2 separate regions of the Homo sapiens genome follow, and region 2 is linked to region 1. Evidence: promoter capture Hi-C in 16 types of primary human blood cells and fetal thymus (Javierre and others, 2016). All regions are on one chromosome and are shown on one strand. Each heading gives the region's core, a stretch centred on a gene start or on the middle of the fragment in contact. The rest is flanking DNA. Distances are from core to core; before and after follow the strand shown. Region 1 holds the start of PRDM14 (PR/SET domain 14). Region 2 holds the start of LOC105375890 (a long non-coding RNA gene).

Region 1 (2,893 bases), core at 349-2,848:
AGGAGCTCTGGGGTGAGCACGCCTCCGGAAGGAAAACGGCAACAGAATTTATTCTGCTTTTCCAAGTAAATGATCCTTCCACAGAGGCACTTGGGACAAGAGGCGACGGGTACTTTTCACGTTTTCGATCTATTGGCTAAGATCCTATCACCTCAAAACAAGGAGACGAGGAAACCCTGGGATCTTGATCCCATTTCGATTGAGAAAACAACACGCTCCTTGCGAAGCGAAACGGGGCTGGCCGCGGGCAGCGCGGAACCACGCGAAGGCGTCGGGGGCGGGCGGGCGCGGGGACCAGGGCCACCCGGTGCAGCAAAGGGGGCAAGCAGGCGGCAGGGCGCGCGGGGAGACAAGGCTGAGTGCACGCCGCCCGCGCCCTCGAAGGCTCTAGTCCCACTCCTTCCTCCCTTCTTGCAGCCCCGCCGCGCCCTGGCGAAGGCTACAGGGTCAGGTTCCCCGCACCGAGGAGCCCAGAAGCCCGGCTGCGGGCGCTCTGAAGATCCGGGACCCCGGCCTCCGTCCCCCGCCAGCTTTAGGGACTCTGGCGGCGTCTCTTAGCCGGGTAGATGTTCCTCCTTTCCCTCTCTCTTCCAAGCCGCTGCCAGGCCGGGGGTGAGGCTGCACCTCAGTCTTCAGCCCCGAAGGCCGCGCCCGGGGCGGGTCGCTCCCCATTCAGCTAAGAGGAAGCAGCGGCCGGGGGGCAGGCGAGGAACCTGTCCCGGCTCACCCGGCAAGACTGCGTTTCCCCCACCCTCGGCGCTTCTTTCTGTGAATGTGAATGGAACTAAGCGTTCCTTTCTCTCCCTCAATGGCCGGCGAGGAGAATTCAAATGCGGTCTTTGGGCGCTCGGTATGGGTCTGGACCTTGGTTTTCAGAGCCTGCGCGTCCAAGGTCGCTAGCCTTTCCCGAAGGAAGTGACAGCTGCGGCGGCGCGGGAGGCCCATCCTCGGTCGTTTAAAGCCACTTAAGGAATAAAAGCCCCCGAGAGAGCAAAACGACCACCCGAAACCTCGGAAGCGTCGGGGGTGCCGGGCCCAACGCTCCCACGTGTCACTGCCGGGGACTCGCGAGGCGAAGCTTCCCAGCGCTCAAGGCGCTCCCGCCTCGTCCCCAGGTATCAGGAACAGACACCCACCAGGTCCACCAGCGGGTCAGACGCCGCCTTCGGGCAGGCTGGGATCTTCCGAACTGGGAGCGGAGAGTAAGGGGCTCGACCCCGGGACGCGAGTCCGGCCTTCTGGACTCCGGTTCAGGGTGTGTGTGCGCGCGGAGGGGCTTATCTGGGGGCCCTGGGTAGCACACGTGTTCGGTTTTTTTCTCCCCGACTCCGCACGCCTGGAGCGGCAATACTGCCTGCCCTAGAAGGCCAGCGGCGAGTGCTCGCCACTAGGGTCCCAGGGAGGGTTTGGAAAACTGATGAGTTAAGTGAGCGACCCCAGGGGACAGAGGGCGAGTCGAGAGTCGGCCAATGGCTGCGGTGGGCGGGGAGAAGACGACGCGGGGATCTGCGTGGGCCGGGTCAATTCCCTACCCTCGACCTGTCGATGCCCCGCGGCCCCGCCCGCCCTCTTAAGCCTGGCTCAGCCCTCAGGGCCCGCCCGAAGTCTACCGAGCCCGAGTGGCCTACCGAGCCCGAGTGGCCCCGCAGCGTCCAGGAGGCGCCCGCTCCGCGGTGGCGCTCTTGGAGGTGGTGTCGGAGGTAGGCACGGGACAGGACGCGCCTGGGGCCCGGGGCGGTGGTCTTCCAGGGCCGTTGGGGAGGGCGGCAGCACTCGCTGGCGCAGTTCGTTTTGGATGGTCGTTCTGCCCTCTCGGGGGCTTTGAATCCCAAGTTGCAGATCCCTGAGGTCGGAGGAGGCTAGGAGAAGGGCGCCTTTGGAGGATCGGGAGGAGACGGGCCGCTGCCTGTGTCGTGGCTGACCTCTTCTCCTGACCCCGTGTTCTTTAATTTCTGAGTCATGACCCTGCTTGGTTTTCTTATTGGGCTCATTGATCTCAAGACCCGCCGGCCCTGAAGGGGCTTCATTCTTCAGCCTCGGTGAACTTGCTGCCTGTCTATTAAAACGCCATCCTTTCCCGGCGGTGCGGGGGCGGGAGGACTGGCAGTCGCCGAGGCTCTTCGCTCCCACCTGGCCAGGGCTCGTCCACGCGGCTCCCGAGGGGCTACCCCAGGCCCCAATAGTCCTGGTAGAATGATTGGAGTTTCCGAGGAACCCGGGGAATGTGGCGGACGCTGCCCGCGAGGGAAAAGAGGTTCAGGCGGCGCATCCTAGGGCAGCCAAAAGTGGCGCGCCCCTCCCCTGCGGGCAGTCAGGACCGCCAGGACCCGCGGGGTCACACCGCTGGGCCAGAGCAGGTCGCGGGGTCCCTGGACCTGCCCGGGGGCTCTGGGAGCGCGTCTCCATCTGCGCGGTGCGACCCAGGGTCCTCGGCTCTTCCCTCCCAGCCGAGGGCCCAGGAGCGCCTGGAGCTGTCGCTTGCTCCATTGCCCTCCGACCGCCTGCGCTCGGCTCCCGGCCCAGCCCCGAGGTTGGCAGGGCCCCGCGGCTCCCACAGACCCTACCAACGAGTTTTGTAGGACTGAGAAGAAGGAAGGAAAGGGAACTTCAATGGGTTTTGCAGGAACCGGGTTGGGGGCCGAAAGCGGAGAGCGGGTGTGGGAAGGCGGCCGGGCTTAGGGAAGGGGTGCTTGGAGAGGGAAGGGGAAGGCAACACTAACCCGGAATTTAGAGTAGGGCAGGATCCCGGCAGATTTCCGTTTGGGGCTTTTTTGTGTTTGCTTCTATTGCTGTTTTTTCGTTTTGTCTTAATTGTGGGAGCGGGCTGGCGGGATCGGACTGGGGGCGTTTATCCTGTTCCCTTGGATCTGGGGCTGGCTGGGGTGGAGGAGGC
Region 2 (2,705 bases), core at 100-2,599, 460 kb before region 1:
ACAGACAATCCCGTAGCAAATGAACAAGACACTTCACGAAAATGATATTCCAATGTCCAATAAATGTATATAAAAGTACTTTATTTCCTTATCAGAGAAATGCATACCATTTCAATGTTATTACAATTACAATCTCACCAGAATGGCTAGAATTAAAAGGATTGGCAACACAAATGCAGAAGATGCCAGCAACTGGAACTTTTTTTTTTCCCCAGATGGAGTCTTGCTCTGTTACCCAGACTAGAGTGCAGTGGTGCTATCTCAGCTCACTGCAACCTCCACCTCTCAGGTTCAAGCAATTCTCCTGCCTCAGCCTCCCAAGTAGCTGAGATTACAGGCACTCGCCACCACGCCCGGCTAATTTTTGTATTTTTAGTAGAGATGGGGTTTCATCATGTTGGCCAGGCTGGTCTCGAACTGCTGACCTCATGATCTGCCCACCTCAGCCTCCCAAAGTGCTGGGATTACAGGCATGAGCCACAGCTCCCGGCAGCAACTGTAACTTTTGATGCAGGATTTTTCTTCTCGGTCACTTTGCAAACCGGGACCTCCGGCCAGCGATGCCCCACCCGCGCCCTGCTCAGCCACGCTGGCATGCCCCAGCTCGCCTGTGTTATAGCTTCTATCCGCGTTCGGCGGTTCCCAAGCTCTTGTACCCACGTTCGGCGGTTCCCAAGCTCTTGTACCCGCGTTCGGCAGTTCCCAAGCTCTTGTACCACGCCTGAGAAGAATGAGGATACGTTGGACATTGAAGGGTGAAGAGGGCGGAGAAGAATTTTATTGAGCAAGGGAACAGCAATTAGCGGAGAAGGGACTCTGGGGGGTGGTCGCCCACCCCCTTAGTCGGATGGTTTTTTCCTCCCCTCGTGGCTGGGTCACGAGCTTTTTATAGGCTTAGAATAGGGGAGGGGCAGGTCATAGGTAGTATTGGAAAAGGCAACGCTTGATCGGTTAAAACGCATTATTTAGAAATAATTAATCAGGAAAGAGCGGGGGCAAAAAGGAACAGAAATACTCAGCCTGTGTCGCGGGTTTCATCTGGGACCAGCAGTTCAGTGTTTTTGGCTGGAAGGTGGGGTTTCACCCCATCCTCCTGGGCATTTAGCAGCCTCCAGCCGCTCTCACTTTCGTGTGCCATGGACGAGATGATAAACTGAGATTGTAGAGGAGTTGCAGTTCTTGGCAGTGACCAGGTCTAGAGAACGACCACTGAGGTAAGTGACTGAGGTGGGTAGATGACAAGGGGAGTTAAAGGTGCTGAGAGGCCTGGGTACAGAAGCAGTCATCAGCGTGGATATTAAAATCACCAGGAACAAAGGCTGACGTGGTTTCGGAGAGACTTACAGAAAGCTAAAAGCTAAAATGATGGAGATGTGAGGGGCTCAGCTCAACTGATGACGGTATCAGTAGGTGTGGTAGACGGTGGATGGTATAGTCTGAGGACAGGAGGTGAAAGCTAGGGGAGCACAGGGACTTTCTGGTCCACCACCATCCTCGTCTGTCTGACCAATACATCTCTCTGCTGGGTTTCTATGTTATCTTTTTCTCTTTTAAAATTTAATTACATTCCATCTCATAGATTTCAATCGTTGATTTACTTATTCCCTTTCCCAACCACTCTATGAGAACACCACGTCTAATTTGATTTTGTGTTCCCGAGGCCTCGCTCATTGGAAGCACTCAAAGATTCTTTGTTGGATGTATGAATGAAGAACTTGTTAAGTGCACCCGCAGAGTATACGTGGTTGGCTCAGCCACGCGAGGTTCAGTGTTAAGCACAGTCCACTGGGAGGCAGTGTTGTGCAGTGAAAAGGTCTCAGCTTTACGAGACAGAAGGCCAGATCTCCAACATCAGTTCTGCCACCTTCTATCTGCCTGACCTTGGGCCACAGTCTCCTTAAGACACAGGCAAAATGGGAATACTGAGAAAGAGAGTCATTTTCTTACAGGAGTACTGTGAAAATTAAAGGTAATTTAGGTAGATTTAGGTACAATATCCGCATATAGTCGGTGTATTTATCATAGGGTAACTTGATTGCTTTCTAATAACAGTAAGCACGATTGCAGGTTAAGTCTTCCAAAGAAGTGTTTTTCATAATCATGCTGCAAATGATTCTCACTCTAAAATTGTCAGCCCAATTCTCACCTCTCTCAGAGGCCTTGTGGTTGGATGCTTGAGGCTCAGAGGTTCTCAGGGCTCCATGAGACTGGGGGCTCCACTGGGGATCAGGCAAGTCCAAGACTTAAGGGACTGGCCCTGGTTCAGCTGCATGTGCATTAAATAGATTTTTGTGCACTGGCCTGGGAAACAAGCCACCATCTATAATTCTGTTTCTATGGGGAAAGGCTTTCTGTGTTCCAAACAACCGACTTACTAATGAACTCCTGGAACACAACCTATGTGTCGATGGGGACTGGCCGACTGGGTTTTCATGGCCGAGTCAGCCGCCCAAGCAACTGCACAGTGTTGAGCTAATTATAATGGGTTCTCTACGGTGACTAATCTAGCTGTGGTCTCCACAATTGAAGTGGAATTTTGAAAAACTGGAGAAGGTTCTGCAAAAAACCACAAAGATGATTAAAGGACTTAAGGAAAATCTAGTCTGGTCTCTACAGTTTTAAGAGGACTGTAGAAACTATCCATGTAATCATCACTCTCGATTGAAAAAACAAAGTATGCACGCCTGTAGTCCCAGCTACTCGGG

The links. The method cuts DNA at HindIII sites, captures the fragments that hold promoters and counts their contacts. A CHiCAGO score of 5 or more calls a contact.
Region 2: a fragment that was not itself captured here is called in contact with the fragment with the promoter of PRDM14 in region 1 in 3 of 17 cell types (neutrophils, activated CD4 T cells and megakaryocytes); the score reaches 7.8 in neutrophils.

Annotation. Positions count from the first base shown.
Region 1 is chr8:70,069,957-70,072,849 of GRCh38, reverse strand. It overlaps PRDM14 (PR/SET domain 14), which reads left to right and starts at 1,598. Exons shown (of 8, transcript NM_024504.4): 1 at 1,598-1,700. RefSeq lists enhancers at 645-1,374, 1,375-2,104. The HindIII fragment of the contact is 12,104 bases long and covers 1,081-2,893 here.
Region 2 is chr8:70,533,723-70,536,427 of GRCh38, reverse strand. LOC105375890 (a long non-coding RNA gene) reads left to right here and starts at 483. Exons shown (of 3, transcript XR_929030.3): 1 at 483-1,214. The HindIII fragment of the contact is 3,569 bases long and covers 1-2,705 here.